Linked DNA regions of Homo sapiens: region 2 is linked to region 1. Evidence: promoter capture Hi-C in 16 types of primary human blood cells and fetal thymus (Javierre and others, 2016). All regions are on one chromosome and are shown on one strand. The core of a region is centred on a gene start or on the middle of the fragment in contact, and the rest is flanking DNA. Distances in the headings are between cores, read along the strand shown. Region 1 holds the start of CHN2-AS1 (CHN2 antisense RNA 1). Region 2 has its middle 36 kb from the start of TRIL.

Region 1 (5,671 bases), core at 1,660-4,159:
CATTTGTAATAAAAGCCCACTGTAGGGAAAGACGAAACTTTTAAATGATCATTCAATAAAATAGTGCTACGCAGTGTAGCAAGTTAAAAAAATTAACAAAATCTCCTTGAACATTATGATTAAATAGTACTATGGGCCTATAGGGTGTTCTGTATACCGCAACCATGCCTTGAGCAGGCTAACTGAATCTGCTACATCTTTGGAGTTCTGGACCAATTTCTAATCTGTTTTCCAAAGTGCCCATCACCACTCTAGAGTGGATTCTGAAATCAACTTGTGGGCCCTGATAGTTTTTAGATAAATGAAGAGAAATACAATAGAAAAGACAGTCTCAGAGCACATCATATATAACAGGATGAACTCTCTTTGTGGAACTTCTGTTTCTGTGTGTGTGTGTGTGTGTGTGTGTGTGTGTGTGTGTGTGTGTGCCAACATGCAGCATTTGTGTTTAGTCTAATCTCAACATAATAGCCAGAATGGATCTGTTAAAACCTCAGTCAGGGCCGGGCGCGGTGGCTCACGCCTGTAATCCCAGCACTTTGGGAGGCTGAGGCAGGCGGATCACGAGGTCAGGAGATCGAGACCATCCCGGCTAACATGGTGAAACCCCATCTCTACTAAAAAAAAAAAAATACAAAAAATTAGCTGGGCATGGTGGCAGGCGCCTTTAGTCCCAGCTCCTCAGGAGGCTGAGGCAGGAGAATGGCGTGAACCCGGGAGGCGGAGCTTGCAGTGAGCCGAGATCGCGCCACTGCACTCCAGCCTGGGCGATAGAGCGAGACTCCGTCTCAACAACAACAACAACAACAAAAAAAAAAACAAAACACCTAAGTCAGATCATGCCACTGTCTTCTAGAACCCTCCAGGGACAACCTATCTCAGTGTAAAAGCCAAAGTCCTTAGGGCGGCCTACGAGGCCCTCCATGATCCGCCTCCTCCTCCCTGCCAGTCCTATTTACCCCTTTCTCACTCTACTGGCCTTGTTTCTGTTCCTGGAACACACCAGGTACACTCTCGCATTGGGACTCTGCAGCTGCGGTTCCTTCTGTCTGGAATGTACTTTCTCCAAATATCTGCATGGCTGGCTCCCTCACCATCAAGTGTCACCTTCTCAGTAAAGCCTTCTCTGACCACTAAACTTAACACTCAGACCCCCTTACCCCCAGCATTTCCTGTCTCCCTTCCTGCTTTATTTTTCTCCATAGAACTTATCACCCTCTAATATACCATATAAATTAATAATTAGATATAATTATATATATAAGATACACATTTATATATACAAATTATATATAGTTCCTTTGGTTTATTGTCTGTCTGTATTTAGAAATTCCACAAGGTCCAGAATTTTTGTCTGTTTTGTTCATTGCAGTATCTCTAAAATCTGGAACATGGTAAATAATAAGTACATATGGAATGAAGTATTGGTGTGTGCACGGTGTGTGTGTGGGGTGTGTGTGTGTGCCTGTGTGTGTACGTGCTGGGTTTCATAGTGTAGGTCACATTCCAAAAGGCTTGTATGATACCGCCTTGGAGCATACTTGGACTACCTCTGGGCTTACTAAGAGTGAAGACTGAAAAGCAATTACGGTACAGACACCCAACAGTCCTCATGTCTTACAGGCTGGGTGCCTGGAACAAATGATGCCACTGGTAATTGCTATTTGAAATATGTGTATATGTGAGTGTAACTGATTTACACACAAGAGGGTTGTTCCCTTGGGGGACCACCAAGGCACCATAAATTGGCAAGAGGAAACAGGCAGATCAGAAAAATCATAAAATTTTAAGACCCTCAGAGATGATCTGGGCCAAACTAATAATTCTACACATAAGCATCAAAGTCACAAAATGATAACATAATTTGCCCCTGGACACACAAAAAGTAAATGCTGAGAAAGAACTACCATAGACTTAGGTCACGTGACCCCTCATCCAGTGATCTTTACGCACCCTGGCCCATCACAAAACTGAAAAACAGGAATCTGCTCTCCAAAACCCTCTGCCTGTTCCCTTTTCCTTGGGAATAACCTGAAATTATTTCTCCAATTAGGCACCAATACATTTATTCCACTGGACTTGACCGTTTGTAGGAATCTCTGTTTTAAAAACAAAGAACTGCTAATGATCACTATTTCTCATAAATGAAAGCCTTAAAAATTCCCTCCCATAGCAAGCGGCAGTGGGCTGAATCATCTACTATTATTCCCTGCCTTTCTAATAATATAGTTCCAACTTACATCAGGCGCAGGGATGTTAAAGCCTGTCAAGAATCAAAACCTTCAACCCTCACTGTCCTACTTCTCATTAGAGCTAAAGACTCTATCCAGTTTTAAATTAATGGATTTATATTTTTTTCATAACCATAAAACAAAGTGCTTCAAACCATAAAGCACTAACAAGTGAAAACAACATATGAGTTGTCAGTCATCTTAATGTAGTAGGTTAGCAGAACATTTTTTTCAGGGAGTGATATTATTACTAAGTGAATAGTTGCACTAATTGCTTGGCTCTCAACTAAGACTATAATAAGCTTTTTGACTATGAGAGGCCATGCGTCTTGGAATTCTCAGTGTTTTGTTGGTGGCCTTAGAGACTCTAAGGGCTGAGGACATTCATGACATAATTGTGGCGGATGTTCTTGGTTCCCTCTTCCCCCTTAACAGAACCCTGTTCCGTTCAGGCCTCCTCACCCCTTCAGGAGAGGCTGGACCATCTGCACTCCAGGAAGGGGGTCACAACTGGACTAAGTACATCCAGGGAATCCTATTCCCTTGCCAGTGATTGGTTCACACCTAAGCATATGACAAAGCTGTAGCCAATGAGGCAAGGGGAACTTTGCTGGGGGGTGGGGGTGGGGCAGGTGTGTCTGAGAAAGTCTTTTTTATCTTCCACAGGGTGAGGAGGAAGAGATTTCCCCTTCTCTGTTTCAGATATGATCCCAGGGGACTGCTATTGTCATCTTGACCCTGTAAAGACAGTGAGGCTGAGGACAAGGCCCCCCGACCAAGAGGGCAGCGCTAAGAGAAGGAGACAGAGCCAGATACTGCAGTGTCTACAACCACGGTACCTCAGCACTTTGTTTTAGAGTTTTCTGTATTTGCGGTGAAACGTCCTAATCCTTACAATAATTGCATCCTGGAATGGTCTGGTCAGGATGTGAGGAGGTGTGAATGTGTTATATGTGTTGGTGTTAGCATGAGAAAAGTTTGAGTGAACAGCAGGTCCCAGGAACAGTGAGTCTTTTGTTAGAGATGGCTTAGCCCGTGACATTAGAAAGCAGGAGGAGCAAAGTCTAAAATCTGATATGTCAGGGGAACCGCAGAGGCCAGCGCAAGGCACAATATCATCCCCACGTGTGCTGCTGTCATAGGGTGCCCAGGGTGGCCAGATTTCACCTGAGGGAAGACACAGAACAACAGAGTCACTGTAGCCCGTGCCCACTTCCTCTAGGGGTTGCCAGGAAAACACTCTGAATGAGACCTTAAGGAAGAAGTTCTAGTACTTGCTTTGTCTTCACACTCCCGTGAAGGGGCATTTATTTGTATTTTGTGGGGGTGCCTGTCTCAGGTGTCCTATGGGAAAAAGGAGGAAAGGCCATGAACAACTTGAAGGGGAGCCAGCCATCCTATACATTCACGCAGGCCATTGGATACTGAAGCCTGCCCAAAAAGTGGCTACCCAGGGACTCAGTTCCCCAAAGACGTCTGTCTTTAGCTTCATTAATTCCATGACAGGGCCAATCTTCCTCCAATTAACAGAAAGTTTATCTACCTAGAGGAGTCTCTATACTTGGGAGGAAGAAGAGGACTTTTGCAACAACCTGGCACTCAAAACCAGCAAGTATTAAAAAATGTTCATTGACTAGGTTCCTTACAGTGAACAATACATGGTTCTAGAAAATTTACTATTTATAATCACTCATATTTTCCATGTGATCTGATCAAATGCATTTTTTCTTTACTTGTGTGGGGTAAAAGTAAATACTGTCAGAACCTCTGTGACAGCTACAAGCGTGTAAAATTTAAGTCTTTCTAACAAAGTCTTTGTAGTACAATACCGTGATCTGTTGTGATCAAAGGGTGTCGGTTCTTTGATTAGAAACAACAAAAGAGCCAGCAGATGATATCCTTGGAAACGTCTGTACAAGCATCCATCTAAGTGGGGGCATATGGAGGCAGCCACAGACACATCACTGTGCGAATAATACTCAGGAGCATCAGGCACACAGTAGAGAAACTTGCTTCCTGGATGACTCACACTCTACTTCGAGGCCATAGAGTTGTGGCCAGAGTTTAAAAAGCTGGATAAAAAGCTAATTAACTAGTCATAAGAAATGCACTAATTGCTTTGTCCAGCATTAGCAGAGGGGACCTACTGCTCTCCCTCATTCTTCAGTGAGAAGGAGGGTGCCATGGCCTTTTGGGGATACTGGGGAAGGGAGGCATTTATCTAGTGGAGGCTGAACTAACCAGCCCTAGAGAGCAAGTCTCTATGGAACTATCTGAGAAGGTCAGGGGCTGGCTGCAGAAAAAGATGAATGTGGAAATGAAAAGGGGAAGAGAAGGGGCACCCCCATGTATTGAGCAAGTTATCAGTGAGTAGGGATTGAAATGCCTCCCATCTGATTGCAAGCATCCTGTCCAGGAAGGCCTTAACCTATGGGTTTGTATTTTCTGTTTGCTCACGTTATGACTGATTCACCTTCTCTTTCTTACAATATCAATTTCTATGCTTTCTTAAAGTAATGGCTTTATTGAGCTATAAATCGCACACCCTACAATTTACCTGTTTAAAAGCAAACAATTCAATGACTTTTAGTTTATTCACAGATATGTGTAACTATTAAGTATTACCACAATCAAATTTAGAACAATTTCGTTACCACAAAAAGAACTCATACCTATTAGCAGTCACTCCCCATTTCACTCCAAACCTCTCAGCCGCAGGGGACAACTCATCTACTTTCTGTCTCTAGGATTTGCCTATCTTGAGTGTTCCATATGCGTGGAATCATATAGTATGCAGTCTTTCACTTCTTTCACTTAACATACTGTTTTCCAGGCTCATCCCTGGTGTAGCATGTATACAGCATCGCTTTTTGAGAATCTCCCTGTGGCTCTCCATGTTGAACTCTAGCTTTACTACTTATGTTTCTTCAGTGTTCACTATTCACTCCTGAAATGTGCTTGTGAACCACAAATCAAGGTAAAAAGTCCTGATTCAGATAAATTCATGTGATTCTGCTCAGAGTCTCCTGTTGCAAGTACATGCAAATAAGTTAAAAAAAAAATTTCTAGGCCAGGCGCGGTGGCTCACACTTGTAATCCCAGCACTCTGGGAGGCCGATGCAGGTGGATCACGAGGTCAGGAGTTTGAGACCAGCCTGGCCAACATGGTGAAACCTTGTCTCTACTAAAAATACAAAAATTAGCTGGGTGTGGTGGCACGCACCTGTAATCCCAGCTACTCAGGAGGCTGAGGCAGGAGAAATCCTTGAACCCAGGAAGCGCAGGGTGCAGTGAGCTAAGATCATGCCACTGCACTCCAGCCTGGGCGATAGAGTTTTTTCCATCTTGGGGGAAAAAAATTTTTTTCTAAAAGTTACTGAAGGCCTGTGACTAATGTGAACTGGTGACAGGGTCCTTGCAGAACTGATTTACAAACAAGA
Region 2 (5,671 bases), core at 2,106-4,605, 290 kb after region 1:
AGAGGCTGTGGAAACCTTCCGTAACAAGTGGTTGAATTGTTTAAGGGATTTTCAAAACCCTCTAACTGGAGAAGCAGGATGAAGGCGAAAGAATACATGACTGATCATTGCTGGCTAACGTAATCAGGTGATTTGTGTTAACAATATGCCACAAAATCCCAGGAACAAAGTCTAGGTCCTGTCTTTAGCCATGTCGTGTCCACGGCAATGTGGACCTTTTATCTGATTATTGGATGGTCCACTGAAGCCATCTTTAGGAATTTAGAACCTTCATAAGAGAAGACGAGATTCAGTCTATGTGGAAGGGTGTTTTTTTTTTTTTAAAGAGGCGCTTGTAATGGTGGTGACTTTCCTTCCTTAACATTAAATGAATTACTAACTCTACATATAATCTTGTGCATTTCTGTCCTTCTTCCCTTCCTTCTTCCCTTCCTTCTTCCTCCCCTCCCTCTCCTTTTGCAGGAAAACTATATTTCAGGACTATGCCCAGCAATGATGGCTTCAAGATCACAATAAATTGTTTAGCTTTTTAGGGGATGAGAGGCAAAATGTTTAAGCACTGGAAAAAGGCACAGGCAGGGGAGATCCTGATTTTGTGAAGCCCAAAGCTCATATGATTTCTTTTAAAAAGAATATACAATTACAAATACAAAATTAGGCAGGAAAGTGAACATTTCTTTAGAATGAAAAATGATATCACAAAAAATTATTGGAGACTTGTAAGTTTAGATCCTTTTTCTCATGAAGATCTCTTTAGGCAATTTACCAAAAATGGCTGATTAGAAATGCTTTCTGATTGCAACCCAGCTTCCTCTCTTCTGGAAAACTCGATGACTCCTCACAGAACTCACAGAGGCCTGTGAGGAAGAAGGGCCTCAGGCTTCAGCTTCACTCGCTTCTCAGGAGTTTGCGTCTGGTCTCAGGTGCCACCTATTTAGAGTGGCCAGCAGCTGATAGTGGTTTATAAACATACAGGTAGGTCCTGGCCATCATAGCGTCAGGGTCCGGGAAGCAAGCAGGGCGGCTCATGGACGAGGAGAGCAGTTTGGGTGTGCAAGACAAGGTCTGGATTCAAGTCCTGCTCAGTACTTACCAGGTGGGTAAACTTGAGGTACTTTACTTCCTTCTTGGAACCTCTTTTTTTTTTTTAATCTTTTCTGTAGAACAAAGGTAATTAAAAGAGATCGGGTTGGGTGCGGTGGCTTACTCCTGTAATCCCAGCACTTTGGGAGGCCAAGGCAGGGGGGATCACTTGAGTCCAGGAGCTCAAGACTAGCCTGGGCAACATGGTGAGACCCTGTATCTACAAAAAAAAACAAAAACCAAAAACCAAAAAACAAAACAAAAAACCCACAAAAATTAGCCGGTAGTCCCAGCTACTAGGGAGACTGACATGGGAGGATTGCTTGAGCCTGGGAGGTAGAGGTTGCAGTGAGCCAAAACCGTGCCACTGCACTCTAGCCTGGGCAACAGAGCAAGAACCTATCTCAATAAATAAATAAATAAGAAATCACGTATATAAAGCACACAGCAAAGCATAGGATAAACACGCAATAAGCCTTTATCTGAGAGTGAAATGTATTTTAAAGTTTGATACTGAAAGTTATGTGTGTGTCTCTTTGCATTTGTCTCATCCCTTCCCTTCCCTTCACTGTTGACTACAAGAGACATTGGAAATCATTGAAAAATCCATTCCCTAGTTAATGTTCCCCGGCTTGCCTTTTATACTATCTGTCGGATCCAATCCATCATGTATGTAATCATATTTTACATTGGCTGCTCTATGAATAAGAAATGAGTGGAGGGTGTTTTGTTTTCTACCTCTTCCCTATCATGAGGGACTAGGTACAGGATGCAGATTTCAGCTCTACAGCTGAAGGGCGCAGATAGTAAATCATTTTACATGCCTAGGATGGAAGACAAGCTCCTTGGGGATTCTGTGATGGTGGTGGAAGAGGGGCCTTCTTCCTGATCAGCACTTTGGGTGCCAGCCTGCTCTGGTCAATGGGAAAGAATGGAAACCTTAGAATTCAACCATATCTGCCTGGGCCTGGGGTGGGATGAACTAAAAAACCAGAGCCTCAAGGTGGCTTGGGTAAAGTGCCTACTGGAATTTACACTTTCTCACAAGCATCAGAGAGATGTTAGGACACAAAAAACTCTTTTGTGCTGCAGAAGATTTTGCAATCTTTGGGTGCCAGGAAAGGTTTCAGTTTCCTTAGCTGTAAAATAGAGATCAAAGCCCCCTTGCTTGCTTCACTGGATCATGTGGAGAACAAAATATAAGCATGAAAGTGAAAACACCTCGCACATCTAGGGAGAGCTTGCAGTATTGCTATGAAAAGTGGTAGCATAAATTAACAGCATGAAGCATTTATGTATCATTTCTCCAACAACCCACTTTTCAGCAATGATTTCCTCACATTTGCATTTTGGTGCTGTTTTGTTGTTTAGATACGAATTAATGCTAAATGTTAAACTCTACTGGGTTCTCTCATTCAAATTGGAGTAACACAGGGAAGGCAATTCTTGTATTCATGGTCTTCTGTTTTCAGGGGGCCGTGGTCTCCTGCAAAGTGCTAAAGCCTCTCTCAAGTATGATGAAACAGCGCCACCGTGTGGTCTCGAGGCTTACCATCATTCACTCATTTGCCTTTGGATTTTTACGGAGCATTGGTCAATAAACATCAGAATATGTGTAAATGCATATTGAAATAATGGAAATTGAGGTAAATTTGGTGGAATCCTCCCATAGCTGTATTTGTGAGCACTTATTAGAGAAAGTATCCATTCATCATTGGCATGGACATGCTTGAATAAGGTTTGTGAGTGACAACAAGCTTAATATTGTCCAAAAGTCTATCTTGGCGATGGTGGTAACTAAAAAATGCATTTTTCCAGAATATCTCCCTCCATTCTCTGATGAAAGAGTCTATATAATGTGTGTATTTCATGAAATGCATTTTATTGTATGCGGAGGGGGAGAGAGAGGTATATAAGGCAACATATATTTAACAGAAAATAAGAATGAAAAATTGTAAAAGTCTTCTTGGCTAGGGCCACTCATTTATCCTGAAGTTAATCAAGCAACCAAGACCAAAGCACTTTGGGGAGCGGCGTGGTAACTATGCATTGGACTGTTACTAAATAGATGAGCCTTTGCCAGGAAATATTTGTTAGGGATAATAGCACAGCAAGGAATGGTTCTCTTCTTTTTAAAATGGCTTATGAATGACAATAACAATAATAACTTACTGTGTTTATTTAGCCAGGCACTGTCTGAAGCACTTTGCCTGCATTGTTCCGTATATTAATTGGAGAGGAGTTCAGTAATGGCCATTTTAAAAATATAATCTAATTTTAAAAAATGCTAGCCAATGTAAGCAGACACACATTCGAGATAAGAGCTAAGCCAGTGTCATTGGCGCTAGACTCAATAGCTCTGAATGCGCTGGGTGGTTGATTCCCTCTGGTGGCCATTCTGGGAATTTACAGATGTAATGCAAATGTCACACAGTACTATAATAATCACAAGCACTGGGATACATATTGGTGAATGCAGTCCTGTCCAGGGAACATGAAGCCACTGGGATGTGACTGTTAGAGTATGACCATCTTTGTTCTTATTACGTTCCTGCTGTAGATGAAAGAGAGAGTAAGTGAATGATCCACTGATGTGCTAGGATTCAATATGGAATGTGGACAGGAGCATACAAAATGATGGGCGTTAATAAGGGGCTAACATGCCACTCTCTGTTTTCCCCTTCAGCTCTGAAATCAAATGGGAGAAAACATTGAAAATGTTAAATAACCGAATGGGTAAGTAAATTGTGTTGTATCCACTGGATCCATTTGAAATAGAAAGCTTCTTTTTATAATATACATTACATCAATGCTCAAGCATTTGTATGTATCTATACATAGAAAAGATCTAGAAGGATAGTTACCAAGTTGCTAACAATCGTAACCTCTGGGGATTAAGGTGAGGACAGGGCAAGAGGATGAAGACTTTTGTCTTTTACTTTATCATTCATTTATTAACACAAACTTGTATTTCTTTTATAATGAAACAATCAAAGTAAACAAATTATAAGAACCAAATATATGCCCCTCTGAAATGTAACATGCCCTGAAAATGTGATAAGTGGGTTAGGGAAATGTTGTAATTCATCTTACGTTTTAGAACTTCACAATATATAGCTTTAAATATTAGCAATCATAGAGCCCCTCTAAAACAGAGTACTCTAAAAGTTTTAGTAGAATTTGTATTAATTCCCTGATATTTTTCTTGCTTTTGAACTTATGAAATGGAGGAGCTTACTTGACCACAGATCTAAAATATTTTCGTTACTTGCTGAGGAGTGTGTGAGCCACCAGTTAAGGCAAGAAATTTGGAATTCTGCTTCCAAGTTCCAATTTAGCTATTCCTTTATTTGTTGATCTTATTTAAAAAAATGTCTTTTCCTGCAAAGCCAATCCAAAAAGGCACATAGTGTTTTGTACACCACAATTATTAAAAATCACTCTGATTCCATGTATGTATATTAGAACTTTGAATCAAAACATTTAAGGTGGTTTTGGAAATCTATATCTAATGTTTAAAATAACATGATATAAAATAGACATTGGTTTTGGGGTGCGGGATAAGGAAAAGGGAGGAAAGGAAAGTGTAGGGACATGAAATGGGGCCAGACGTGAGATGAGTCCACAACATACACTAATGAAAATGAAGTTCTGCAAAACTTTTGGTAAGGGTGAATCATAGATTTGGTTTGCAGTTTACTAGCAATTCAAAGAAACAGGGTAAGCTCCAGGAGTCGCAGGCCCACAAGGCATAGATGAGTCGATTGTTAAGGAGGAACAACAGCTACTGGGCTACTAAGACAAGAAAAAATTGTCTCCTGCTTGACTGGGTTCTAGTTAAAAATAAGATGGTGTTCATCAATCGCAGAGGGAGACGCAGGAGAAGGAGATGGGATCCAAATCCTGGCAGGCTCCTTACTCCTGGGTTGGAGGAAAGACAGCTGTCCCCAGTCCCTCAAAAATTTTTATTTTCCATTTTTAGTAGCCTGCCTTTCCCATCTACCCTGACCCCAACCTGAACTTCATCCTTTCCTCAGTGGGCCCTGAAACGTTCCCCAGTTCTTCTTTATCAGACTAAGCTCAATGAAATGGATTTACTAGACTTTTTCATATTTATGTGTGAGTGATTAATAATAGATTCTGCCCCTGCCCCACTTAGGGCATGGGCATTTATTTTTTGTTCTCTTAGCATGGCAGCTGGGCAGGTGGTCTCAGTATACGTTTGTTATAACAATGGTTACATTTCACTTGGCAACATCATTTATCATCTCCTGTGACTTTTCACTGTATTTACAAATTCCCCTTTGGCTGTAGAGATCACAAGTGAACTCTAACAGATTAAATTATGGCAACTTTATTTACTGCATCCTGGGTACTATCTTCCATATATTTTATTCTAGAATTGTTTATTTTCCTACAGCCATTGCTCACTGAAATTCAGGGTAGGGTCTACTGTGACCCCGTCATCTTTTAAATCAGTCTTTAAACAAGGCCATTCATTCCCAATGGCTGTTTGTGTCATTTCCCCTATCCGCCCGCCTGCTTTAGTGTTCTTCATTTAGCATCCAAGTTCACACATAAAAAACAC

Evidence for each region. Contacts are between HindIII fragments. The CHiCAGO score rates a contact against its expected background, and 5 or more counts as called.
Region 2: a contact is called between a fragment that was not itself captured here and the fragment with the promoter of CHN2-AS1 in region 1, in 6 of 17 cell types (M2 macrophages, M0 macrophages, M1 macrophages and 3 more). The highest score is 8.4, in M2 macrophages.

What each region holds. Positions count from the first base shown.
Region 1 is chr7:29,206,208-29,211,878 of GRCh38, reverse strand. CHN2-AS1 (CHN2 antisense RNA 1) reads left to right here and starts at 2,909. Exons shown (of 3, transcript NR_120522.1): 1 at 2,909-3,066. All of the region lies in intron 1 of CHN2 (chimerin 2), which reads right to left. The HindIII fragment of the contact is 4,492 bases long and covers 2,536-5,671 here.
Region 2 is chr7:28,919,759-28,925,429 of GRCh38, reverse strand. No RefSeq gene overlaps it. Among named protein-coding and RNA genes, the nearest start is that of TRIL, 36 kb to the left of the region's middle. The HindIII fragment of the contact is 1,025 bases long and covers 2,843-3,867 here.